Linked DNA regions of Homo sapiens: all the other regions are linked to region 1. Evidence: promoter capture Hi-C in 16 types of primary human blood cells and fetal thymus (Javierre and others, 2016). All regions are on one chromosome and are shown on one strand. The core of a region is centred on a gene start or on the middle of the fragment in contact, and the rest is flanking DNA. Distances in the headings are between cores, read along the strand shown. Region 1 holds the start of RNF2 (ring finger protein 2). Region 2 has its middle 6.6 kb from the start of HMCN1. Region 3 has its middle 28 kb from the start of HMCN1. Region 4 overlaps LOC107985239 (a long non-coding RNA gene). Region 5 overlaps GS1-204I12.4 (a long non-coding RNA gene). Region 6 overlaps LINC01350 (long intergenic non-protein coding RNA 1350).

Evidence for each region. Contacts are between HindIII fragments. The CHiCAGO score rates a contact against its expected background, and 5 or more counts as called.
Region 2: a contact is called between a fragment that was not itself captured here and the fragment with the promoter of RNF2 in region 1, in 1 of 17 cell types (neutrophils). The highest score is 6.6, in neutrophils.
Region 3: a fragment that was not itself captured here is called in contact with the fragment with the promoter of RNF2 in region 1 in 1 of 17 cell types (naive B cells); the score reaches 5.2 in naive B cells.
Region 4: a fragment that was not itself captured here is called in contact with the fragment with the promoter of RNF2 in region 1 in 9 of 17 cell types (total B cells, naive B cells, naive CD4 T cells and 6 more); the score reaches 10.5 in total B cells.
Region 5: a contact is called between a fragment that was not itself captured here and the fragment with the promoter of RNF2 in region 1, in 1 of 17 cell types (neutrophils). The highest score is 5.3, in neutrophils.
Region 6: a contact is called between a fragment that was not itself captured here and the fragment with the promoter of RNF2 in region 1, in 1 of 17 cell types (fetal thymus). The highest score is 6.3, in fetal thymus.

The regions. Positions count from the first base shown.
Region 1 is chr1:185,043,404-185,047,994 of GRCh38, forward strand. RNF2 (ring finger protein 2) reads left to right here and starts at 2,155. Exons shown (of 7, transcript NM_007212.4): 1 at 2,155-2,246. RefSeq lists a silencer at 1,785-2,044. The HindIII fragment of the contact is 4,610 bases long and covers 819-4,591 here.
Region 2 is chr1:185,725,490-185,730,080 of GRCh38, forward strand. No RefSeq gene overlaps it. Among named protein-coding and RNA genes, the nearest start is that of HMCN1, 6.6 kb to the right of the region's middle. The HindIII fragment of the contact is 4,781 bases long and covers 1-4,549 here.
Region 3 is chr1:185,703,922-185,708,512 of GRCh38, forward strand. No RefSeq gene overlaps it. Among named protein-coding and RNA genes, the nearest start is that of HMCN1, 28 kb to the right of the region's middle. The HindIII fragment of the contact is 480 bases long and covers 1,651-2,130 here.
Region 4 is chr1:185,674,411-185,679,001 of GRCh38, forward strand. The region is part of intron 1 of LOC107985239 (a long non-coding RNA gene); the gene reads left to right. Among named protein-coding and RNA genes, the nearest start is that of GS1-204I12.4, 30 kb to the left of the region's middle. The HindIII fragment of the contact is 1,193 bases long and covers 1,694-2,886 here.
Region 5 is chr1:185,652,340-185,656,930 of GRCh38, forward strand. It overlaps GS1-204I12.4 (a long non-coding RNA gene), which reads left to right. Exons shown (of 3, transcript NR_188649.1): 2 at 2,664-2,871; 3 at 4,138-4,591. The region is part of intron 1 of LOC107985239 (a long non-coding RNA gene); the gene reads left to right. Among named protein-coding and RNA genes, the nearest start is that of GS1-204I12.4, 8.1 kb to the left of the region's middle. The HindIII fragment of the contact is 3,789 bases long and covers 537-4,325 here.
Region 6 is chr1:185,564,106-185,568,696 of GRCh38, forward strand. The region is part of intron 2 of LINC01350 (long intergenic non-protein coding RNA 1350); the gene reads right to left. All of the region lies in intron 1 of LOC107985239 (a long non-coding RNA gene), which reads left to right. Among named protein-coding and RNA genes, the nearest start is that of LINC01350, 62 kb to the right of the region's middle. RefSeq lists a silencer at 1,518-1,718. The HindIII fragment of the contact is 1,536 bases long and covers 1,315-2,850 here.

The DNA of each region.
Region 1 (4,591 bases), core at 905-3,404:
AATTTGTCAGTAGTGTTTTTCATATTAAGGATGTTAGCCTGAGGTCTAGCTTTTTAATCACATTTAATCCAGATATCCCATAAGTTTTCCGTTTTTCCACTAATTCTCCTGTGAGTCTTTTTTAAGCACTATATTTAACTTTCATCCATAAAGTTCCTGCGCTTTCTACAAATCATCACTTTTCTCAACATCAATTGAATTGCTTAATCTAACCACACATCATGATTTTCAAAGGCATTTTAATTAGAGCAAAAGTTCTAAATTATGAACACCTGTCTTCCTTTAATTGAACTACACATGCACTCGTCATGAAGGAAGAAGGGAGATGCTTCTGCAACTGCACTGTTTCTAGAAAGTGGACTTTCACAAGAAGGGAGAAGCAGAGCTTCCCTGATTATTTTGATTTTGTTGTTGTTGTTGTTTTGTTTTGTTTTGAGACGCAGTCTCGCCGAGACACCCAGGCTGGAGTGTCATGGCGCGATCTCGGCTCACTGCAACCTCTGCTTCCCAGGTTCAAGCGATTCTCCTGCCTCAGCCTCCCGAGTAGCTGGGACTGCAGGCGCGTGCCACGACACCTGGCTAACTTTTTTTTGTATTTTTAGTAAAGACAGTTTCACCATATTGGCCAGGCTGATCTCGAACTCCTGATCTCAAGTGATCCGGTGGCCTTGGGCTCCCAAAGTGCTGAGATTACAGGCGTGAGCTACCACACCCAGCCTTTTTTTCTCCCCCCACATTGGAGGAAGAGTTTAACCTTGAAGGGCTTGTAGAGTCAGATAACTGTCACTTGTTATTTAAAGTTATAGATAGTAGGCAAAAGCTTTCAAGCCACTGAAAAAGAATAATGCTTGTTTTCTTTGATGGATTGTTAGGTAGCATATATAATGTGCTGTATTTAACACCTGTCCTTTTTCTTTCCACCCATCCAAGGCGTCAAAGGCCATCTTAAATCCCGGCTCCTCAGGAAATCATCCCCAAACACACCAGCTGGAATTGATATTTTTCTTTTCCAAATTCCTATGTAAATTCATGTCATTTATTTGGAATTGCTTATAGAGAGTTTCAGAGCGTTAAAGAACTGGAAAGGACCTAGGATTCAATACAATTCTCTCATCTCGCAGACGAAGAAAATGAAGTGCAGAGGAGCTACGCAATCTACGTAAGTCACATAGACACACATTGGAGGCTATGAACCTAGTTTGCCCAATTCCCACTGCAGTCCATTGGTTTATGCCTCTATGCCTTCAGATTTACGGTCTGGTATTGCTGGTTATCTTCTCAAGAGAACATGACATCTCAACAATAGTACATATAGAGATCAGGGAACTTTCAATTCTTCGTTACTTCTTCAGCTCATAATTTATATGCATTAAATGTCGGATAATTTACTGGAGACTAACTGGCTGTGTTTTAGGTAATGATTACATCTATTAATCTATTACTTCGTAAATCCTCAAGTTCAGAAGGTAACACTGGAAGGGGCCAAGGAGGTAGGAATAAAGCAGCAGCAAGGTAAATAGTAAGAGCTGATGACCACAATCAGAATGTTAAGCTAAGTTTAGAGTGGAAGGTCATTTTCCCAGGAGCAATTACACTTGCAGTTTTATCCTGCAAGGATGAAAAGTGTATGTTTGTTGTACGAGAGCGGAAGGGTGCCGAAGTTCATGTGAAGTTCTGCAAACCAAAGCCTGATGAGGATTTCCGCCGGGTGGGACAGGTTTAAGAGGACGAACTCATGAGAAAGAAGTCTGAGCCCAAACCCCAGAAGCCGGCCAGGAAGGTGTAAAGGGTGGGCCGAAGCCAGGGCAGAAGAACCCAAGCAGAAGGTTGAGCACGAGGTGGCTGCGCCGTCATCCGGGCGTTGCCCGGGGGCTACGTCGGACCGCGGTGGGCGCCGGGGGGGCGTGGCCGGCCAGCCCAGGGCGGGGCGGTGGCGCGGGTTCTCCAGGCCAACACGCGGCGGCGCACCCTCCCTCGCGCCGCGGGCCTCCCCGCGCCGTGCACGTCCTCGTCCCGCGCCTCCGCCCCTCGCTCGCTCGCTCCTTCCCGCCCTCCCCGCAGCGCCGGCCGAGCCGGCTTCCCCTCAGTCTCTCATGAATATTGAGCGGCCCCTGTTGTATTTCCCGAGCTCCATTGCGGAAGCTGAGGCTCGCCATATTGTGCGGCGGCGCCGGCGTCCGCGGCAGCTGATACCAGAGTCTTGCTCCGGCCGCGGCCAGCGGAGCCCTGGGCTGGGGCAGGAGCCGGTGAGTGGGGCGGGCGGGGAGGCGAAGGACGCGGAAGCAGCGGGCCGGGACACGCGTCTACTCGGCAGCGTTGCAGGCGACTGACGGGGGCCCCGGAGTGTGGGGGGGGTGTGTGTCCGCGGGGGTGTGAAGGGACATGGCGCCGCCGCCGCCCCCGGCCGCTCTCGCGGCGGAGACGGCGGGTGAAGCGGGTTCTCATTGTTCCCGTGTCTTCGAGGGTCGTGGGAGGGAAGGGAGCTGGTTTGCGGAGGACCCAGTCAGCGAAGCGCCGGGATTCCTTCCTTCGCCGCGAGCCTTTCGCTGCCCTTTCCTCTGCGCGGAGGCCGGCGCTGCGGCGCGGTCCCCTCGCCTCCGGGGGCGGGGGCCCCAGCCTCTCTGCAGCCCTACTCCGGAGGCGGACGGAGTGGAATGCGAGTTTTTTCTCTGGGCTTTCGCCTCGCAGCTAGGGATGTGTGTCTGCATCGTGGGGGTGGGGTAGGGGGCACTTTGTGCAGATATCGCTCCTTCCTTCTGGGGGGTCGGAGTCGGGGTTCCAGTGTAGAGGAGCTCCTCGACCTCGGGGTTCCTCGGGGAGACCCCTTCAGCTTCACACATTCCTGGAGTGCCGCCTCCTGCTCTGGAGTATCTGTTGCTGCTTTCTAAAACCGTGAGCTTACCCAGGAGGAGTCGTGGGGGGAGGGGGTGTCTTGGTTAGTTTCTGCGGGAAGATTCGCGTTTTGAACCGTGTCGTTTACGCTGAGATGCTAGTACCCACTTTTGCCGGGAGCCCACGTCCTGCTGGTCAGAATCGTTTACCTTCTACAGAAGTCTCCTTCTTGCTTTCAGAGATGGTGTTAGTAAAAATTGATCTCAAACTTTGAGGTTCATTCCAGTTATTTGCCCGCTAAGATCAATTATAGACTCATCTATTTGAAGCCCCTTTGGGTATCTTTTTCGAGGCTGTCGGAAGTTTTAGAGAATGTAACTTTACATTGTAAAATGATTTGAAGATGTCAGGTTTCTTTGAAGTGCCGTGAAAAGGATATACATATGCACTCAGTATTTTAGTAATACGCTGTTTTTCAATTAAAAAAATTAAGGCATGGTTTCAGTGTTCTAAACCGAGGATATGTTTAAAACGAATGTACGAGCGATTTGCATTACATAATCTACTTTTGGTAATTCCAAGATGATCAGCTGGAATACTTAGTCTAATTGGTAGCTAATCTATCTGTTTTGTATTAAGTGCAGTTGTTGAATATTCTAATAACTGAGGTGGGTGTGAGAGTTTGCTTCTTATAGTGAAATTTGATCCTTGGATTTATAAAGTATTTAAATAGCAGCAATATGACTCTTGGTTATTCCCTTTTTCCCCTGAAATTTCTACTTTTCACAATCAACAAGTATCTTTAAAAATCTTGATTGTACTCTTAAACTACTTTTTAGCAAAATAATAGGTAGTTATAGGTGACTCCTTTTTCTAGGGGTAGCACAGCAAATATGGTCCCTCACTTTTTGTAAGGATTGTAGTTATTTTCCTCAGGTATCCTTGTGGCATCCACATTTGAGGTTAATTATAGTAGAGGCAGATTTACGAAGAAAAATTGCCCGAGTCAGGCCAATCCGTTTGAGTATTTGAAAAATAAGCTAGTTGTCCTAAAGTGTGTTGCATAGAAAAATTTCCAGTTACAATCACTAACATAATGTAGACCATGCAGACTTTCAAAATACTGGGAATTTGGAGTTTTTCTCTGCCTGTGTGAAGCTCCCAGGTTTGAATGGATAGAAATATAGACCAGGTCAGCAAACATGTTTGGAATTTTATTAGTGACCTACAGTTTGTGGTGTCACGTCTGTGTCTCTAATCTGATTTATTCATGATTTGTGTTTATATTATGCAGACTTTGGAGTAAAGGTGATATATATGCCTAATGAATAATATATAACCAGATGTTTCAGTGACAGTTTCATTTCTATACATTAGCAAAGAAGCATAATTTCTTCCAGCAAGAGAAATGAGTTAATATTAAAACGCACTTTATTAAAATTATGGCAGTGTTTCTAGTATGACTTAAAGCGCTTCATAATTTTGAAATGACTCATTAAATTCTGGATAAACTAAAAATCCATCACAGTTTGCAGCTTTTAAAAGAAAAATAAGAGATTATGTACTCTGCGCACGTACACATCTACAATTGGTTTTTAATTCGTGTTATTGCACACACTGTAGAAGACATTGTCATCAGACAATGGTTAATTTCTCGATTGATTCATTTATTTGACATCTAAGCTGTCATAGTAACTTAGTGTTTATTTGCATTTAATACTGAGTAGGTGCCCATATAATTTGGGGTACAAAGGTATAA
Region 2 (4,591 bases), core at 909-3,408, 680 kb after region 1:
TGCAAGACCTGAGTTTTTACTCCTAGCTGGCTGTACTACATGCCATGGAAGTGATCTTGGATGAATTGCTTGTCATTCTGAGTTTAGTTTGCTCATCTTTGAGATGGTTGTAGGAACACTTATCTTACAAACAAGGTCGTTGTGAATATTAAATGTGTTCATGAATTCACTCATGTGCTAAGAATATGCTTTAAGTTGTTGTGCATGGTGATGCATGCCTAGCTATGGGAGGTAAGGGGAGTTGGGGCTGAAGTGGAAGGGTTGCTTGAGCCAAGGAGTTTGAGACCAGCCTGGGAGATATAGCAAGACCCTGCCTCTGAAAACATGTATGTATGTATATGTGTGTGTGTGTGTGTGTGTGTGTATATATATGTGTGTGTATATATATATGTGTATATATATACACATATATGTGTATATATATACACATATATGTGTATTTACATATATACGTATATATATGTGTATATGTGTATACATATAAGTATATATGTGTATACGTATATATGTGTATATACATACACATATATGTATATGTGTATATATACATATATACACACATATATATGTGTATATATACATATATACACATATATATGTGTGTATATATATACATATACATGTATATATATATATATATACACACACACAAAATATGCTTAAAGTACTCAGATGGCAGTTATTATGGTTATCATTATTAATCATAATGAATTCAGCAACTCATCAAAGAAACATTATTGAATTTCTACTGTATAAAAATGAATAAAACACTACGTGTTTATAAAAATGAATAAAACACAGCCCTTATTTTCAAGGAGCTCATGGCATTGGAGGAAAAATATGAAATTACTTTGAATTTGTAAATAAGCGAGAAAGCTCAGAGAAATACTCATGAGCAGGAAAAGCTCATTCAAGAACAAATAATGCTTCATGGATAATTCACAAAGCAAAAAAAAAAAAACCAAAACTCTGTCTTTTTTTTCTGAAAAGATCAATATAATTATAATGTATGTATCATATTAATGATGAAACTTTGCAATATACTGTAAAGTAATTGTATATTTCAAAGTTTAAAAATTTTCAATTTTACTATAAAGTCATAGGGAAAACATAGACTAAAGGCAAAAGAAGGAGAATAAAAGTGAAGGGGAGAAGAATGAGCTGTGAGAACAGATGACTTAACCTCTTTGTGTTAATTTCATCTTTAATTTCCTCTTCTATGAAATGGGGATCATTCTATTAACTATCTTACAGTTTTGGAATGAGAATTAAAGGTGACAGTGCATTCATGCATATAAAGCACTTAAGGCTGGGTGCGGTGGCTCAAGCCTATAATTCCAGCACTTTGGGAGGCCGAGGTGGGTGGATTACTTGAGGTCAGGCGTTTGAGACTGGCCTGGCTAACATGGTGAAACCCCATCTCTACTACAAATACAAAAATTAGCTGGGCATGGTGGCATATGCCTGTAGTCCCAGCTACTTGGGAGGCTGAAGCAGAAGAATCACTTGAACCTGGGAGGTGGAGGTTGCAGTGAGCTGAGATCATGCCACTGCCCTCCAGCCTGGGCAACAGAGTGAGACTCTGTATCAAAAAAAAAAAAAAATACATATATATATATATATATATATATATATATTTCACTTAAAATAGTGCCTGGGACATGGGTACTCAGTAAATATTAGCTATTACATCTGATAGGTGCAAGAGTGATCATCACAAGCTCAAAATATACTTCTGCACTGTCTCAAATTTTTTTGTGTGTGAGATCTTAGACAAGTCATCCTCTGGGCCTCAGTTTTCTCTCTGTATAAGGTCCTAGCGTAGAAAAACGATCTTTAAAATTTTTTCCAGCTTTTGAATTGGGGTAAAGGAGCAGAAGAGACTGGGTATGAGAGTTACTTGGGCCCTGACTTTATGGAGGTAGCAGCTGCCTGTGAGAGGAGCGGGGAGGTTTGAGAGGACATCTTGAGAAGGGTCATTGAGAATAAATTTTAATTTCTTCTGTCTTTTTTTCAGAAAATGAAGCAGAGATATTTTTGGTTGGAGTCTTTATTCCTCATTAAGCATTCAGTTAGGGTTTACAAGACTTTTCCTCAAGTATTATGAGGACAGCCTGAAGGTCTTGATCTTTATTTGGGGGTACGTACACTGGGATGGAGAGCTGAGGTCCTTGTAGAGAGGACCACAACTGATAAACAAACCAGAATCACAAGTCCTAGAAAACTAGGGCCCCAGCTGAGCCTAAAGAGTGGCTCCTTTTGGACAAGCTACCAGACTCATGTTTTCTACGTCCTCTTGGATTTGTTGTGAGCCAGTTTTCTCTTCTGAGGCAGCATACTTCCTGTTTTATGATGGGAATGTTGCCTATATAAGGAGTAAAAGACTAGGCCCTTGGTGCTTTTCCCTCTTCCGCTTGTTCCCCTCACTGACCAAAGGCTTCCTGGCTTCATTAAAAAAAAAAGTAGAAGCTGAGTATTACATTCCCCAAAGTATGCCATGAGAGTTATTCTGTGCTTTTTTCTCTTTAGTACCAAAGGAGAATAAGAATGTAAACATCTGTTTTATATAAACTAATTCCAGACTTAAACTTGATTAGTATAAGAGAATATTCTATGTGATTAGTTTTCCAGTTATAACATGATGGCTTTCTGTCCTTTTATTGCCTTCTTAAAGGAGAAAAGAGAAGAACAAATAATGTTTCTTTTTTTTTTTTAAGTGTCATAGAATTGCCAAGTATAACCATTATGGTTGGTGCAAAAGTACTGTACTTTAAATTCAATGGCAATAGCAAGTTACTTGCCCCGTAGAAATGTACTAAAGTAAACATAAAATAACTGTGGGCCTCATTATGTAGAGAAGAAGACATTTTGGGAAGGATCATTGAGAATAACTTCAAGCCATTTAGTGATTTGCAGGAGGCAGTTTACTACAAAGCAGTGTTTTTGCATACTGCTTTACAGCAATCATCTTCACAACCCTTATTAATTCAAAGTTTTTCTAAACTAGGCTTTATCAGGCCCTGTGTGATGAATGCTTCCAATTAAATGATCACTTAAAATAACAGTAAGCACAGTCTTCTCCAGAGCAGGTAGAAGAATTTCAAGGGAGAAAACTGAATTGGAGAGAGGATTTTAGCAGTGACATTATTGGAAATGTGCTGGACTACTTAAAAAACAATGTTACCTTGTCCTTTGCCTCATTCCCCCATCCCCACCATCCAATATAACATTAATGATGAGAATCTATGCAAGGAGACTTTTGAGAATAATTTGGTGATTGTTATCATGAAACTAGAAATGTTCCATAATCTGCTACATGTTGCTGTAAAATCTAACATTGTGTATGTAAACTTTAGAAGTGGCAACTCCATTCTCTGCTTTCATTCCCTTCCTCCTAGGACTTCTAAGATCAAGGATAGATATCAGTTCCTGATAAACTGAAAAGGTCTTTTACTTTTCTCTTTTCTCCCTTCTCTGTCCTCATGGCCTTTAAAGGGTATTTTTGGTTTGTGCTTCTTTGGAGTTACCTATGCAGCTCTTTTCATAAAAAGTGACTGAAAATTACCAAATCATGTTGATCTTGAATTCATGTCACTCCTTGCATTATCCATTACTATTATTTTAGTTCACCTCCTTGTACTTATAGCCAGAAGGGAGCTTTGCAAACAGTGAACAGCAGAGGCTCTGGAGTGAGATTGCTTGGGTTCAAGTCTTGGCTCTACTGCTTGCTATCATAGAATTTAGGCAAATTGCTTAACTCTCCAAGTCTCAGTTTCCTTAGATAAAGAATGTCATCAATATTTTTATTGCAACCTACTCCTATTTTTCTTCTTTTTTCCAATTTATTTCCCTTATTCCATCTCTCACACATCAAGTGGTTTTGTAAAGTATAAATCTTTTTACTCTTCAGCTTAAAGTCCTTTGGTGTCTTTAGGATATAATCCAAACCTTTACAACTGGTATCAAGGCTGCTGATGATCTATGCTTGGCTCCCTTTTGTACTTTCTCCACACTTGAACCTTACCTGCAGTTCTATAAATGGGTTATGTCTCTTCACCCTCAACCCCAACTGAGGCCTGGTAAGTTTCTACATATTCTACACTTACTTGAGATGCCATACTTTCTGGAACACCTTACCTGATTTGCCTTTCCTGAGAGTGGTGCCTGTCCTATTTGCTTCCTTAGAATGCTAGGTTTAGTCTTTCAGAACATTCTTAATCTGTTTGCTCAGCCCTACAAAACTGTAAGTGCCTTGAGGGCAGGGACTGAGTTTTCTCTCTCTAGTACATAGTATAATACCTGGCTAAATAACAGTTATTCCAGAAATTTCTTGAGGAATAAACAAGTAAATAACTGAGTACAGTTTGGGGTTAAGAGACAATAGAGGGTTCAGGTTATTAACTATGCCATTTTTATGGATTTTAATTGCTCTGTCAAATAAGTGGTAATATTGGATAATACCCAAGAATTACTTGGATTAGGTCAGTTTATTGGATACTTGTCATTCACCACTTCATATATTGTTATTCCTGGGCAATACTTTCACTTAAGCTTCACTGTTGTTGTTTTTTATCCCAACCCCTCCTACTCT
Region 3 (4,591 bases), core at 641-3,140, 660 kb after region 1:
TTTTTACCATGGAGAATCCTTCTGTGAAGAGAATAACTTTCCCTTTTATACCTTTTCTGTTCTTACTATTTTGAATCTATAGAATTCATCATATACCTCAACTTTTTTGTCCATGAAAATATGCATCATCTGACTTTGAATAAGTCACACAATAATAAATTCAGATTAGAATTGTCCACACCTTTGTTTCTTCTAAATTTTGGGTATGTAAGCCTCTGATAATTCACATGACTTAATTAAGCAGAAATCTGGCTCCAAGTGTTGCCAGATGGTCACTATATGGATGAGTAAGACATTAACAAGGTGCAAAATGGGCTAAACCAACAAGCCCATTCCTTCAGAGTCCAACTTTGTTGTTTATTTCCCCTGGTGGCAGGAAAACTGGAATGAAACCATATCTCGTATGTGCGATGCTAGCCAGACATTGTGTGCATGTGGTAACAGGAGCCTTATCTCTCAGACCATTAATAAGGATTGGAATAAGCAAAGAAAGGGAAGCCAATAGCAATTGTTAGAGTGATTTTTGAACTCATTACTCATACAGCTGTATAAGAGACTTTAGAACTTCAGCCGACTTATCTTGCTGCAGCAAGTGGCAGTTGTACTTGCTCATGCCAGTGGCCTGAACACAAGAATGCTCAGGTATGAGAAAACACATAGAAAAGGCTGCTATAAGAGATTAATTAGAAAGTGATCATTCATGTTGCTAAATAATTTTTCACTTTCTAAAATATTAACTATGGTAATTATTTTTTCTACTAAGCTTTCTCAAAGCTACTAACATAATTTTAAGAAAATGAAAACCATGAGTTGCATGCAAATATAAAATAAACAAGTCAAAGATTCTATTCAGCTTATCTATTAAAGAAGGAATCAGTAAGATGTTTATGCTGGTTGCAAAAGCATTTGAGGACTTAGGCATTTATAAGCAATTTAATAAAGGAATGTCAGGATAAGATTGCTACACTGCATTAAAAAATTCTGGTTAATATCCTACAGGATACCATTACCTTTGGGATAATCTGTTCCACAAGCCAGACTTTATTTTCATTTTTACTGGACAAAAATTTATAAGTTTCGTGGTAATGTCACTACGTTTGAGACTTTTAATCAGTAGTATATAGTAAATCAAATTATATTCTCCTGGATAATCCCTTGGGAAATCCCTTGGGTAATCCCTTGGGTAAATCTTAAACCCATAAAATATTGGAAGAACTTGCAATCTACTTTTTTGTTTCTTCCTTTTTTCAATTTTGGATGCGTTTCCTTATCAGGGCATTTAATACATTTAAAAAATTAATTATGTGCTTTTTTACGAACATAGGCATTATATAAATATGTAATAACCATCTGGGGAAAATCAAATTATTAGATAAAAATAAGAGTTGTATACAGAATGACAAGTACTTAGAGGAATCCTTTGAGATGAGGTAATATGGACTGAAGCCCCCCTTGGATTTACTGCTACTATTTATTGAATGCTTACTATGTGTTGGTTGTCACATTAGGTGCTTTATAAACACTATCTCTAATGACTTTGAAAATAATTCTTTAATGATAACTGAAGAGCTGGGAGTCAGATAACTTCCTGAGGTCATACAGTTACTGAGTATAACAGCCATGGCCCAAACTCTGACTGTTGAGCTCTAAAGCTTGTGCTAACTTCTGTGCTCTGCCTCTTCTCACCATATCACTACAGGGGTAAGAATCTTACAATTTTGCATATTTAATTTTAAGCATAAATATTGACCCCTAATACTTGTTTCAGTATCAAACCTGGAGCTGATATTTAATGGAGATTTACTGATTGCTAGACACCGTGCTAGTGCCTTGCCCTAGCTGTCATATTTAATCATCCCAACAACCCCATGAGGGGGATCAAAAAGCACTATTAGTTGCAGGTTATGACAAAACACAATAACATTTAACTAAAGCACTATTTACTATATTTAAAAATTCTCCAAGTATCTTGTGTCATGTTGTATCTATAAAAGAGAGTCTCTTTCTCTCTCATAGTTTACAATTCAAGAGAGACTCTGTAAAAGTGAGAACATATTGACATACATAAAACTATGTAAACATGAAACAGAAACATAGATTAAACAGAGATGTAGATCATGTACCATTAAAAGCTTTCCTAAAACATTGTGAACGTTTCATAGAAAAAAAATGTATCAATGGTACCTTCTATCTTTTGGGAAATCATGAGCTTGCTTTATTATGATAGTGCAGAGAATAGTTGAATAATTTGGACTCTATGACTCTCAGCCCTAAATTCAGAAAGTGTAGTTATATACCCCAGTGTTTTTTATTTTTTTAAAAAAACCTCTAGGCAGGAGATATTTTGGTAGGACACAAGACCACAAATTTGTCATACTATTCATATTTTATTTTCTATTTTTACTATAGTGGATAATCCCCAAATAACTATTATGGAGTTAATCTATCACCATCTCCTTCCTATATCTTTTCTGAGGGAAGGTTGGAATTAATGGATGAAGATATGTAGACATCTATGGTGTTCTGGGAAGCTGAGCATGTCTGATATAAGGCATGTGAGGTTTAAATGCATGCATGTGTTAGATATGTTGTCTAGCCTTTCTAGCCCACTAACTATAAACTACATATCTATCTTATGTATCTATTGGTGTGGAAACTTTACTGTATGGGAATTTGGAGAATCTTAGAGTCAGGAGAGATCTTTAGAGATCATCACATCCAAATGCTTTTTCGAAGAAGATATTTGTTTCACACCATTGCTGATGTACAGTTGTCCATTCAGTCATAGAGAACTAGCTATCCCTCCTTGGGCTCTTTATGACTTACAGTATATTTGTTTCCGGGAGCTGCCATAACAAATTCCCACAAACTGGGTGACTTAGAACAACAGAAATTTATTATCTCACAGTTCTGGAGGCTAGAAGTTTGAAATCAAGGTGTTGGTAGGGCCACGTTACCTTGAAAGCCTCTAGGGGAGGATCTTTCCTTGCTTCTTCAAACTTCTGATAGCCCCAGGTTTTCCCTAGTTTATGGCAGCATAACTCCAATCTCTGCCTCCCTCTCTACAGAGCGTTCTTCCTGTGTGTCTACCTCTTCACATGGTCATCTTTTCCTCTCATAAGAACATCTGTCATATTGAATTAAGGGCCCACCCTAATGACCTCCTCTTAATTTGTTTACATCTGCAAAGATTTTATTTCCACATAAGGTCACATTACAGGAACCACAGGTTAGGGCTGCAACATATGCTTTTGGAGGTCACAATTCAACCCATAACGCTCAGTATAACCAGAAGAGCTAAGTGGAGACTGGCTTAACCTCCTAGCCTTACATCTTTCTCTCATGCTGGATGCTTCCTGCCCTGGAACATCAGACTCCAGGTTCTTCAGCTTTTGGGACTCAGACTGGCTACCTTGGCCTATTGTGGGACCTTGTGATCATTCGGATTCAGGGCAAGGGGAGGCTGAACAAAAAAAAAGATGGCCAAATAGGAACAGCTCCAGTCTACAGCTCCCAGCATGAGTGATGCAGAAGACAGGTGATTTCTGCATTTCCATCTGAGCTACCGGGTTCATCTCACTAGGGAGTGCCAGACAGTGGGCACAGGACAGTGGGTGCAGTGTACCCTGCGCAAGCCGAAACAGGGCGAGGCATTGCCTCACTCGGGAAGTGCAAGGGGTCAGGGAGTTCCCTTTCCTAGTCAAAGAAAGGGGTGACAGACGGCACCTGGAAAATCGGGTCACTCTCACCCTAATACTGCGCTTTTCCGACGGGCTTAAAAAACGGCGCACCAGGAGATTATATGCCGCACATGGCTCGGAGGGTCCTACGCCCACGGAGCCTCGCTGATTGCTAGCACAGCAGTCTGAGACCAAACTGCAAGGTGGCAGCGAGGCTGGGGGAGGGGTGCCTGCCATTGCCCAGGCTTGCTTAGGTAAACAAAACAGCCAGGAAGATCGAACTGGGTGGAGCCCACCACAGCTCAAGGAGGCCTGCCTGCCTCTGTAGGCTCCACTTCTGGGGCCAGGGCACAGACAAACAAAAAGACAGCAGTAACCTCTGCAGACTTAAATGTCCCTGTCTGACAGCTTTGAAGAGAGCAGTGGTTCTCCCAGCACGCAGCTGGAGATCTGAGAACCGGCAGACTGCCTCCTCAAGTGGGTCCCTGACCCCTGGCCCCCGAGCAGCCTAACTGGGAGGCACCCCCCAGTAGGGACAGACTGACACCTCACATGGCGGGGTACTCCTCTAAGACAAAACTTCCAGAGGAACGATCAGACAGCAGCATTCGCGGTTCACAAAAATCCGCTGTTCTGCAGCCACCGCTGCTGATACCCAGGCAAAAGGGTCTGGAGTGGACCTCTAGCAAACTCCAACAGACCTGCAGCTGAGGGTCCTGTCTGTTAGAAGGAAAAGTAACAAACAGAAAGGACATCCACACCAAAAACCCATCTGTACATCACCATCATCAAAGACCACAAAGTAGATAAAACCACAAAGATGGGGAAAAAGCAGAGCAGAAAAACTGGAAACTCTAAAAAGCAGAGCACCTCTCCTCCCCCAAAGGAACGCAGTTCCTCACCAGGAACAG
Region 4 (4,591 bases), core at 1,040-3,539, 630 kb after region 1:
ACATTTGCTCAAGATAGACGAAGAGCAATACATCCTCTCTGTGCCCCTCCACCCCTATGAAAACATGGCTCTAAGCTTCTGACAACTTTTTTTCTCCCGTTTCTATTGTTATGGTCATGGTCATGATTTAGCACATTCTGGTGACTTTCATATATGCTCCTCTGACCAAATTCTAGATAAATGTTTTATGTTTACATTGTCACAACTCTTCAGGAATGAAGGTTACTCTCTCCCTTCATTAGAGACCGAAAATAAATGTTCAGCAGTAGAATCTTTTTCAACATTACTTTAAAAACGCAATCTCAAGGGGTCTCAGTTTTAAAGATTATGGAATTATGTATAGACTCCTACAAAATAAATGGGAGAAGTGGAGGCAACTGCTTAGGTTCCTGAGGACAGATATTGTTTTTCTGAAAGTTTTAGTTAATTGAAGCAACAGTCAGTAAGATCTGATGCAGTTGGACGATAGCTCTGTTCTCTACTGTGTCTTTCATGCATGATGTGGACAAAAATTCCTGTAGAGAAATTGAAAAACAGAGGAATGAACAGAACATGAAAGAAGTTTCTTTTATCTCTCTTTTAATAAGTGAAAATAATGGGCTATGAAAGTTAACTCACTCAAACTATATAGGATGTTAGGCAACAATTTTTCTATGTAAAGTAACTGAATTCATTGCATCTCAGTTTCTGTTGTCTGAGAAAATATTCCTAGAGGCATGTCAGGTAGGATTTGTAGAAAGATGGTAAACACTTTAAGAAGGGTCCACTTATTTCTCTCTGTCTCTTCTCATTGTGCTGAGTAGATGCATTTAGAATTAGATTGCATTAAAAATTTTTAAATGGTAGGCATTCATTGAGCGAAATGATAAAAATTCTTATTCTCTACTTAACTTTCTGCTTCATTCTTATTTAAACTGCACATTTTATTTAAAACTAAGTACCTAAAAATGAACAATGTGCTGGTGAGTGTATCCGTTCTTCTGCCTAAGCACACCTTGGTAAGGAATGATAGTAATAAACCCTGAGAATATATGGGAAGTGCTGTTCTAAAATGAAATCATAAAACTTACACAAAATGACAAGCAGGCAGCTTGAAGGAGAGGGAAATGGTTCTGAAATATGGGCAGAATTCTGGCTTACATCTTGGCACTTTCAGGAGTTGCAGTATGGAAGAAAAAGCAGAGTTCATGTGAATTATTTGAATTTTGCTAACTGGGATAGGCTGGGGAAGGTGTGTCATAGTCAGATTAATAGCATAGGCTTTGAAACTTGACCAGCTTGGGTTTGAATTGTAATAGGCTCTACCCTTCTAGAGCTGGTGTAAATAAAGTGCTTAGCACAGTGTAGCATGCAGCAAGTGCTGAATAAATGGTACCTCTATTCACAAGGGAGCAGATACCGACGTGAAGTAATCTGATGTTAACTGGTAGAGTTCTCCTGTCATCCACCCTCAGCATCTCATTTCACAGTATATGAAGTGCCATCTTAAGTTTTAATTTCTTCACATCTTAAAGCCTTTTTAATCTTCCAAAAGTCAATTTTAAAAGGCTCTGGATCTCTTCTTATCATTAGCTAGTATAAATAGAGGTCAGTTTAATTTTCTACTATGTATTTTAAATGATCAAAATGACAATTCATTTTATTAATAATTACTAAAAGTACCTATATTTTTGGAAAGTATACATCCAAGATAAGCTTATTAGGAATTAGCTGTGTCACAGTGTTTTTCAAATTGTGTTTCACTTTATTATACTATCTATGATATCTGCTTTGTAAAAAAAAGTTGCCATAATCTAATAAGGTTGAGATATGCATACCTGAAGACTCACAATGCACATCAGCATATTAAAGTTCTGAAACTATTCTACAGAAAAGAAACCTTTGCTTAACCTAGAATTTTCCAAACCAATTTGACTAGAGACTACTGTTGTTAGACAACATCTGTTAATATGCCATAGTTACATTTTGGTTTAAGACTACATTCTAGTTTAAGAGATTATTTTCCAAACTTAATAGTTAACTGGGAAAGTCAGACTCTTTAGGAATAGAGCATAGATTAGGCACTTGTGACAAGTGGATAGCAGAGAGGATCCTAAAAGGGAAGGCAAGAGGATGACAGTGAACTCTGTCCTACATAAAAAGAGCAGAGAAGAGATTCATGCAACTATTAGTCTACTTATAGTTTAGTTACATGCTTAGCCACTGACCTGTGTCTAACTTAAATCAGTGAACTATCTGCTTCCCAGTTTTTTCTCCATCAAATGTCAGGGGGCAAGGTGAGATACCTTCTAGGGTTCCTTCTAGATCAGCTATCCTAGTCTTTAACTATTTTGTTTTGAAAAAAAGTATGGTATTTTTTACTTTGGTGGCAGTAGTGGTGGTATACATTTATGTTACCTTTATAGAGGTCTATTTGTTTTCTTTCAGGAAATCTAGACTGTCCTATACATCAGTGAAAAACTTTGATATAAAGAATTTTAGTCTTTTTTATAGTTTGAAGAATACTGCTTATTATAGCTCGAAGTTTCCATTTAAATATGTTTTATTAAAGCAAAAACTGAATTAATTTAAGTTTTTTTTAAGTAGTGGGAGTTATTTTAGGTGGACCAGATCAACTCATGATTTCATTGTTTCATCTTTTATGTCCACTTGGCTTACTGGCAAACAAATGGAATTAATCTTTAAACAATGGAAGAATTAGAAGATACCTCATGCTCAGTGGCTAACTGGAATTACTCCATAAGCCAACAATTGTATTTCACTAATGTGTTCGCTGTTGACTCAGGTTATCATGGTCTTGGAGAGGGATTGTTGTATTTTCATACAACCAGCCCTGCATGTCAGGTGGTTAGCTTTTGTTTTGAGATGAGCTGTAGAGGATTCAGAAGCTTTAGGGACTTAATAGCCATAAAGTGGGTTGGTTGACAAAGGTGCAGAATAAAAAGAGAGATCTAGAGGGCATTACTAACTTCTGAATGAAAGGTATGCATATCACTGGATTTTTACAGTAGCAGGTGATCATGAGTTACTGTTTTTAAACTTGCTCACTTTTGCCTTACGTAAGGGAGGTATTTTGATAAAATCCATGGTTACATTGTAAAATAATTATTCATCCATTAAAGCAATTCCAATGGTACTATTTTAGACATAAAGCATACCAATACTGTTTGTAGCCAAATTTAATAATGATACTACAAGAATTATTTTTCTACCCAAGAACTTTTTTTTTTCTCTTTTCCCTCCTTCAATTCCTGGCATGGGAGAGAGAATAATTTCTGTAAAACCGAAGTCTTTTCTCAAGACAACGTGATTATGCAGAACATTAGGTCTCCTTTTTTACCAAACAGGAAGTGCTTTGAACTTGTTGGATGATAACATGTCAGCATTTATTTTTGATGAACAACTCAAGAATATGAAATTGATTTGAATTAAAAATTATTTAATAAGTTTCATTTAATATTCATCCTTTGGAGCTGTAGTCAGCTCCAAATGAACTCTAATAATCTTTAAATCTGTTAAATCACTTTAATAATCTTCATCTTTTTAATTTAATTGATGTATTTATTGTCTTTTAATATCCAGAAAGATGACCATTTCTTACCTTGGAGAAAGGACATTAGGATTATATACCTCACTGGCTGAGTTTAGAAAAGTAGTAATTATCTTTCAGTGATAACAAGTGTATAGCTCATAATAGAAGAATTCATATTTCCTAAGATTTTTAAAGAAGTACTGCTCAATTTAGCAAAATTGTTACAGTTTTACAATTGCACCTCTTCTCTTTTTAGGTGTTAAATTGCATTTGGACTTTTATGGCTAAACAAAACAAATATTTCAAGAGGTAAGAAGGTACATGATGAACACACTTCCTTAGTTAAATGAAAATAAAGGAGTTTTAAAGAGGAAAATTGAACTAACCAAGTTGAAATAAGGTCTGAGGAAAATCTAGATCTCAGACACAAAGGAAATCTTTATCTTTTAAAAAATTCCAAAAGGCTTGCACTTATACCAAGCTTTTGAGTTGAGAATAAAGGCCAAATGCAATAAATTTAAAAAAAAAACCTGTTGGAAATGTTTAACGATATGCATGGAGACATATTCTTCAATCCAGATATGAGCTTGGAAATTTAATATGAAGCTTGTATTACTAAATGTGCAATTATAAAAGGGAGGATGTGCAGTGGCCTAGAATTTTCTGTACATGGGCTTGGACTTTGGGGAATGGAAGATTCGTGTTTGAATTCATGAATTCATGAGTTTTGTCATCATGTACACATCATGTCATTTGAGCAGCCTTAGCTTCCTCATCTGCAAAGGGACAAGACTATCAATTATTGCACTGACCTTTAAGACCATTTTCACCTTATTATTTTATAATTCTATGATTTATAATGGTAGTTTTTCTCTAGATAGCATTTTTCTGAGATCCAATTGGATCCTTTGATCCTTTGAGATACAATATTTTTGCATTTAAAATAACATATGGCATCCTTTCAATTACCTGAAGAAACAGAAAAAGGTTTATTTCAACTTTAAGAAGACTTATTTTTAATAATCCTGAAATTTTGAGGCATTAACTATTACTAGACAC
Region 5 (4,591 bases), core at 1,181-3,680, 610 kb after region 1:
ACATACACCATATTAGAAACCCTGAGTTGGTCTAATTATTAACAGGGTTAAATCAAACCCAGTGTCTGTATTTGTTGATGGAAACCTTGCTGCATCTCTGGGATATAATCTCAGTGGCTTTCATCCCATCTTTCTCTAAATGGGTGTCAGTGCCCTAGCAATGACCTTGGGTACTGGAATAGACTCAGGTCTCCCCACGCATGGTTTTGCTGCCAGGCAGTAGATGGCAGAATTGAGCTTGACTTTTATGGTTGCCTTTCTTCTCACTTGCCTCCATTGGTGAAGTTGAAGTACTCTTAAGCTACTTGTTAAAATAGCTTTTTTTAAAAAAAAAAATCACAAATAATTCTATGTGTCTGTTTTATTCCATTTGAATCTCATACATTGCCTACCGTATAATGCTTTTTTAAAGAAAAAGCTTATTGGAACTATAGTTGATTTCTTCCTCTTGTTCCAAGGTTTTCTAATCTCAAAAGGACATCACCCTCATTTTAATACTTTTTTTACCTCTGTTTTCTTTTATCCAATGTTATTAAAGCTTTCTTCTATCCTCTTCCCCATCATTTAAAAAAATTTAAAAATCAACACTAGATTTTTTATTTTATGTCCTTCAAATTATTCAGACAATTCTACTCGTCTTAAGACTGTAATAAAAATTCCTATCTCCACAGTGTGGGAGAATTGTCAAAGAAGGCAGGATCCTCTTCTGATGTAGTAGGTTGGTGCAAAAGTAATTGCGGTGTTTGCTATTTCAATGGCAACAAGGCACAATTACTTTTGCACCGACCTAATAAATGTGGGCTTTGATAAAGCTACTGTCACATACAACTTGAAATCATGAAGAGGCCCTCAGGACAAAATCTAGGAGTTGATTGAGAAAGAACAAATGGAAAGTTTGTGAAAGCAGAAATCTTCAAGTAGGATATTTTGTTTAAAGATGGGAGTGTTATGGGAAAAGGCAGAAGCCATTTGACTCAACCCTATTACTGAAGGCTGAAAAGAACATATATTTTTTAAAAATCTACCATTGAAGTAGTTTAGGAAAAATGTCTGTGAGCTGCAAACCCCCAAAGGAAAAGAACTAACTGAGAGGAATACCTCTGGAAGAACATGTTGAGATGACTAGGGTACAAATTGGGCCTGAAATTCAATGTTTATTCTGGAGAGACTAGATAAACACTTAGTACTTTAGCAGTAGTAGAACTAAAAGAAGGTACTTAAATTGGCTTAGGGTAGAAGTAGATTGCAAGAGCTCAGCCTTGAATAAATTAAATTAGTCAATTGTTTTACTTACTTATACATAATATGTACCCTGTATTTCTTCATGCTAATAGATAATATGATTTTTGCAATTTATCTGCCCTATGAAACATTTTATGGAAGACCTCAGGTAGGAAGGTTATTTAAGAGGAAAAAAAAGCAAAAGGGACAGATATCAAGGTGGAGATAGCCAAAAAACTAGAGAGCCTTTCCTGTGAGACTGCCCAAGACTTATTTCTTCTTTTTTTTTGCCTTCCCTTCCCTTCCTTTCCCTTCCATTCCCTTCCCTTCCCTTCCCTTCCTTTCCTGTCCTTTCCCTTCCCTTCCCTTCCTGTCACTTCCCGTCCCTTCCCTTCCCATCCCTTCCCTTCCTCTTTCAAGACAGAACAGAGTCTTATTCTGTTACCCAGGCTGGAGTGCAGTGGCATGATCTCAGCTCACTGTAACCTCCACCTCCTGGGTTCACGTGCTTCTCCTGCCTCAGCCCCCTGGGTAGCTGGGGTTACAGGTGTGCACCACCACACTCAGTTAATTTTTTGTATTTTTTGTAGAGACAGGGTTTTACCATGTTGGCCAGGCTGGTCTTAAACTCCTGACCTCAAGTGATCAGGCTGCCTCAGCCTCCCAAATTGCTGGGATTACAGGCATGAGCCACTGTGCCCAGCCCAAGGCCTATTTCTTTGCAATAATTTACACAGTAAAATCCAAGATTAACACTTGAATTATTGCAACGCATTCCTTCCATTTTTCCTTCCTTCCTTCTTTTTTGCCCTCACTCCTTTTCTTCTTTCCTTCCTTTCTTTCCTTTCTTTCTCTCCTCCCTCCCTCCTTCCCTCCCTTCTTTCCTTCCTCCCTTCTTACCCCTATCCTTTTCTCTTCCCTTCCCTTCCCTTTCCTTCTTTCCTTCTTTCCTTTCTCTCCTCTTTCCTTTTTTTTTCCTCAAAAAAATTTAAAGAAGGTTTAGGGGCACCTATGTACTATTTAAAAAAATGATAAAGAATGTGAGGAAGAAAATGTCCATGAACACTATTTTAAATGCCATGTCTTAATATCAGTTTCCCTTGTTATTTTCCTAGCCAGTCTTTGTCAGGGAAATAGCAGTCATTTTCCTAAGCCTAAATTTAACAGACACCTGATAACTCTGTATAGTACTTGCTGATAGGAACCGAAGTAAACAAGAGTGACGCATAGCAATGTTGTCATTTCTACTCTACCGAGTCCATGTGGGTATGGAGATAGAAAGAATGTGACTTGATTGAAAAGGAATTTGTTGTTGAATGAGAGGTTAAACTATGTTCTTAACTTTTAATCCTATGTGCAAAGCCTTTTAAATAATTTGGAAATAATATTACAAAAGGAACAATTTAACCTAAGTTAGTTGTACTCTACCATTTCTTTTTCAGAGAGAAGAATCAGTAGAGCTACATTTTCTTGGCACTCCAAAATGTGGATTTCAAAACTGTTAGTTCAGAAGTGTTCAACTTTTGCTGCCCACTGGAATTATCTGGAGAGCTGCAAAAGGACACTGATGCCTGGGCTGCACCTCCTAGAGGTCTTGATTTGATCAATCCAAAGGAAGGCCTGGGCAGTAAATTTTTAAAAGTTCCACAGGTAATTCCAAGTTGGGAACCATTGGTAGCTGGAGTAGAAGACATTTATTAAGTAATGACACAAAATGAGGTTTGGGACAAACTTTGTATATCAAGTGAAGAAATTTATCCTGTAGGTAATGGTCAACCTTTGGGGTAGACAGATAAGTGCCATAATTTTGTTAGTTTTTAAAGTGGATTGACATGGGGAGCATTGAACAGCAGGCTTCAAGTGTTGCCCCCACAGTTCATGATCCTGCAATTTGCAGGCTTGCTCTCATTTCTGCAGTCGCTTTCACATTTTGATTCTGTCTTCCCTCCCTTGTCTCTTAAACTCTGGTAGTCTTGTTAGTATGCCCTACTGTGGCATCTCCATTAAGCATGATTTGTTCTATTCAGGACTTTCTCTAAGTTATACCATTAAAGAAGTTTCCTAAACCTCAATAATTGTTTGATAATAAAGGTAAAGCCTTAAGTCTATTTAGTCTCTAAGTCTCTTCAGTTTTGAATATGTATATATGTGCGTGTGTGTATATATATATGTGTGTGTATATATAGATGTGTATATATATGTGTGTATATATGTATATATATGTGTATATATGTGTGTATATATATGTGTATATATATGTGTATATATGTGTATATATATGTGTGTATATATGTGTATATATGTGTGTATATATGTGTATATATGTGTGTATATATGTGTATATATGTGTGTATATATGTGTATATATATGTGTGCGTGTATATATATATATATGCTACTCTTTTAGAAACACGTTTCTTTTTCAAATAACCTAAAACTGACTCCTTTTCAAGAAAAATACAGTGAATAGATTTTTATTTTACATTAGGAAATGTATGGTTTATAAACTGGAAAATCAAATGGCATTGATTTTATCAAATACATTACAATGAGAATCACCTTTAAAAAATAACTACTCTACTTAATTTAAGCCTCGAGAGAGTCCTCATTGCCTGGACCAGGGACTTCCTTAAGAAATATTGGTTAAATAAATGTGTCAGAAAAAATTATGAAAGTCTTTAAAATGAGCAAAAAGGGTTATTTGTGTCTATAAAGGTCTATATCTTTCCAGAGTTATTTGAGTCTATAAAGGTCTATATCTTTCATTGTTTTGGATCCATTTTACAACTCTGTAAATTGAAAAAAAAAACTGATAGTAATGCAAATTATTTTGTCCAATGGAAATGAAAATGAACTTCATCCATCCTGTAAAAGGCATCTCATTTGCATCTTTAATAGATGTAAATTCATTTTCAGCATTTCTGATGGCCTCACGGATCAGGAGTCTGCAAGACCACCCTCAGGCTTCATGCACTAAAAGGACTCACAGGACTCAGAAAAAGCTGTCATACTCATGTTTGTGGTTTATTAGAGTGAAAGACTACAGATTAGAGTCAGCAAAAGGAAAAGGTGGGTAGGGCAGAGTCTAGGAGAAACAGGACACAAGCTTCCAGTTGGCTTCTCCCAAAGGTGTTGCATGAACAGCACTTAATTATCTTAGCAACAATGTAACACACATGTAAATTTTTGCATCCTATGAATCTCATCTGAGCCTTGGTGTCCAAGGATTTTTATTGGGGTTAGTGACAAAGGCATGCAGCGGCTATGGGACAACATTAACTACTCAGTCTCCAGCCCCCAGAGGTCAGTGTGGTTCAACAACTGATGCAGTGCGGTTCAACAACTTAGACGACAAAAACACTCCTGGCAG
Region 6 (4,591 bases), core at 833-3,332, 520 kb after region 1:
AGTGTATATTGCAAAAATATAGTGAGCAAAATAGTGGGTCAAGAAAAGGGTCAGAGGAGAGTTAAGGGGCAAAGCTGAAGTTCACAGCCACCCAAAGTTTTAGACAATGAAGAGTGTTTCTGCAAGGAGCCAAATGAAATTAGAACAAGCTGGGCCCATTCTAGGTGAATAATGAGGTATGGTTCTCCCAGGAGTTCTAGAATAGTCAGTTGGCTACTGTAAGGGTCTTCTCATTCCGTTCCCTCTGCTGCAGGGACCACCTGCTCCAGGACTTACAGAGCCAATAGAGAAAGTCAGCACTTTCCTTCAGGGAAGTAGATTATTTTCATCGTATGCAAGGGATAAAGTAAACATTGGGGTTTAACAATGAACTTTTGTTTCTTATTTTCATTTTTGAAAAGTACTGAGTATTTAATCTTATGAGTATATAGGAAAATTGGGTGGTATTACATGACACTCCAAAATGCTTTCCCTAAAAGTTACCCTCCCATGGATGAGAGTGGTCTGATGGATAGTGGTGGTCTGTGATTTTACCCTACTCTTTCTCTATGAGAAGAGAGGCTCAAGTTTCCTTCTGGATCTAAATGGGTAGAATATGTGTCCAGCCCCTACGGGGTATATTGCCTCTCTCCATCCTCTGGCAGGAGAGGTGCTACTCTGCACCGTGGTATATTTACTTAGTGTACTATATACGTTAACAAATTTAAAAATGTATAAAGTGGAGATTTATGAATACAGAGAAAATAGGGGTAGGGAAAGAATGGTAAATCTAGAAGTGAATCCACAAAATGCATGCTGAGAGGTTCTGTATGGTGGATGGGCAAGGGCCCCCAGTTGGCTTTGTGCCTAGAGAAAAACATGGTCCAATAAGTGAATCAGTGTCCATAAGATACAACAAGCCAGTGCCAGAAGACAAGCTCAATGCTTCTTTGTATGAAGGCAAGAGGGAAGTTTTTCCAGTGGGTTTTCCTAAGGAGGATACTTCGAAATGTAATGAGCCACATTCTCAATAGTATCTTGACAGGCATTTCATAGAAGTGCTTCCTATAATGTTCCTCAGATAAAGGCTGATGGCATAAATTCACAGCTCAATTCAATAAAAATTCCTATCTTAAATTCTTTACAGAACAAAGTAAGGTATGAATATACACATTTTTAAAAGTCATCAAAAGATGGCAAGAACTAAATGAGACAGTCTAGGTATGAAAATCTCTGCTGGCCTGGAACCACCCAAAGACAGATTTTAGAGTATGCAGTGGAATGTCTGGATTTTCAATCCTTCAGGCAATTCTCCGTAATGGTGTTTCTAAAACAAGCTTTTGAAGTATTGAAAGCAATGAGTTTGATGGGATCCTGCCTGACACATACCTCCTGGAATTCACTCTGCCGTGTGGCTGATTATGTCCGGAACCCATTGATAATTCCTCATGTCAACGTTGGGAATGCAAGCACAGACAACACCTAAACAGAGGCCAGCCTGCCTTTTCTTGGAGGTGGGCCAAGGAATGGTTATGGGAGCGTGAAAGCTCTTCTCACAATTCTAGTTCTTCCCCAGTGCATGGAGTAATGGAAGGGCCCCAGCATTCTATACCTGTAGAACATTATGGTAAGAATTGAAGTATGCGACAAAAGTTAAACTCTTTTTGAGTTCTCTTGGTCCATGGGGAGCTGAGGTTCTTTTTTGACCGGGCCTCAGATACATCTCTTTGGCTTCATTTTAACACTGTTCTCAAAATCACCTCAGAATGGTACCTGGAACCTCCGTTTAACTCACTCCTTGGTTCTACTTTGGTTGCTCTATGACTGTCCCACCTCCCTCACCCCCCTCCTCCACCCCCCATGCTCTGAGCAGCTTGGCCTATGTTTTCCCTTTATCTCTCTCTTTGTTTTCTTTCTTTTGGCCCACCCTCCCTCCTCCCCTCTCTTCTTTCCTTCCTTCCTTCTTATGCCTGCCTTTCCCCTGCCATAATTCATACCTAACCTCACAGGCTCTTTCAGAGCTGTTAAGTAAAATTCTATAAGTAAAAACGCTCTGTATAATTTTTTTTCACCTGCTGCTCAACCTACCTGGTGACCCAGAGCTCCAATTTCTCATAAGAATTGCCACTACCTCTCTTGATTAAATTTTCAGGTTCATATTTTTGCACAATTGTTTTTTATAAACATGCATGAACACAAATAGGATTATTTATGTGATTTATTTCAGTCAAATTACTCTGATTCCAACCAATCTGAAGACATCTCCAACTTAACCATGGTTTTGGACATGATGCGGTGGGGGGGACAGTAAACCATGTTTTTTATTATATCCTGTCTTTGACAGATATTAGGAGACTAGACCAGTATGGAGTGAGATGACATTGTTAGTGATTTTTTCTTGGGATGCTTATCACATTGTACAGAATCTCATGTTGATCTTTCTAATTTTTTTTGTAATCCATGCAAGCTGTATATTTCCTTGTAAAAAATTGATATTTGGGAAAATATTTTTACCCTGAGAAGTTCCCAGAAATAGAGATTTTCTGAATCTTATGAGCTATGAGACATTTAACCAAAGAAAATTTTCAAAAACTATTTTAAATGGAAGCTCCATATATATTGTGCTTAATTTTGTCAAGAGACATAGTCTTAGGAGCACTTTTGACAAAATATCTGCTGTTCTGTTGATAACCTTGAAGCTGACCTCTTTCCCATTAAAGAATTAACATTTGGAATTTTTATATGAATGAATAAAACTGCAATGTCACCTTCCATTTAAGCAATATTTTTCACTTCTTTGGCATTTCTAGCCAGTCTTTTTTTTTAATTTGTGTCCTTGAGGTAGTCATTCATTTTGGATCTTAAATATCAAGCTTTCAGCATTTGTCCTTTTAGAGACTGTGTCATGAGGCTGAACTCTAATACTTGAAAATGATTAGAGTTTGCCACTTTACAACCGTTCTGATAGTTCATCACCTGCTTGGATTTCAGCTTACTCTGTAAATTCAGGTACTTAATACCTGACTCTGAATAAAAATATTTTGAAGTGTTTTAGCAACCAAACAAACCATGCAATGAGAAAGAGGTGCAGACGACTCGCTTGTGGTTATGGTTGTCAAGGAAACCATTTCCGTATATAGTGTTTGATAACAGCCATGTTTTTTTAAAGGCCATAAAAACAAAGCTTGTCCAGAAGTATGAAGAAGAAAGCATACAATGAAATAAGCCACAGCCAACTAGAAGTTATGAGAATGCATTAGATGCAAAATGCTAGATATCAATTGATGAGATGTTTTACAACATAGAAATTAAACTCAAGAGGGATAACATGTTGAAAAGTGTGGCAGAATGGGGGTGGCAGCAAAATGCCCTTGTTGAGGCAAGGTCAAAGTCTCACTATGTTCTCAAAATATACTGTGTGCATTTTTAGAGAAATTGTTTAATTAAACAAACAGCTTCATCTTTGCCATACACAAACTCGTGGAATGGAATTTAAACAGCTTTGATAACATAATCAGTGAGAGGCTTGAATATATTGCCCAGCAATAGACTAGATTGCTAGAGCTACACAAGCTGCAGGAAATGGAGAGCTTATTTGGGGGTTTTGTCTAGTTTATGCTACGTTTTGCTTTAAAAGAGAAATGAACTGTAGTGCATAGTGATGCTGAAGATCTTTATGGAGGAAAAAAGATCCTAAGATGTTGATTATGGATAAAGTCTATTTTGAAAGCTCTTTCTCAAGGTCTATACATATAGAGCAAAACCCCAAGGAGGAAAAGATGGCTGGGTATGGTGACTTATGCCTGTAATCCCATCACTTGGGGAGGCTGAGGCAGCAGATCACTTGAGGTCAGGATCTCAAGACCAGCCTGGACAACATGTGAAACCCTGTCTCTATTAAAAAAAAAAATAGCTGGGCATGATGGTGCATGCCTATAATCCTAGCTACTCAGGAGGCTGAGGCAGGAGAATCACTTGAACCTAGGAGGCGGAGTTTTCAGTGAGCCGAGACCGTGCCATTGCACTCCAGCACTCCAGCCTGGGCAACAGAGTGAGACTCTGCCTCAAAAAAAAAAAAAAAAAAGAAAGAAAGAAAAGAAAAGAAAAAAGAAGAAAAAATGATGTTGGTTTGACATTACAGATTTTTATTCTAAAATATGGTTTCCCATTCATAAAATGTGAAACATAAAGTATGAAAGATGTGGCAAAAGTGGAACTGTAAGGTGCATGATTCTATAGAGAAAAGGGGTAAATTGAGCCTAGTCTGAAACTATCCAACCTACAAAAAAAGAACATGTGGTTTAAAAGATACATGATTTGACATGTTGGAAGCCAGATGAAAGTCCAATGAAAAGACATAATTTCTGAATAGATTCTAATGTCTAAAAGAAATGATTTCATTCTTGCTCGAGCAATTTTTTCTTATTTCATAAACTATTAGGGTAATTATTTATGTAAGCAGAAAAATTGATTTTGTACTTCTCCCTTCCTTTTTCTTTAATATGTACACATAACTGCAGCATATGACATAGTAAAATTTTCACATTTGTTTCTTTACAATTTACCACAAAGGAAATGTCGTTTGGGCAACTTATGATGTGCAAAGATAGAG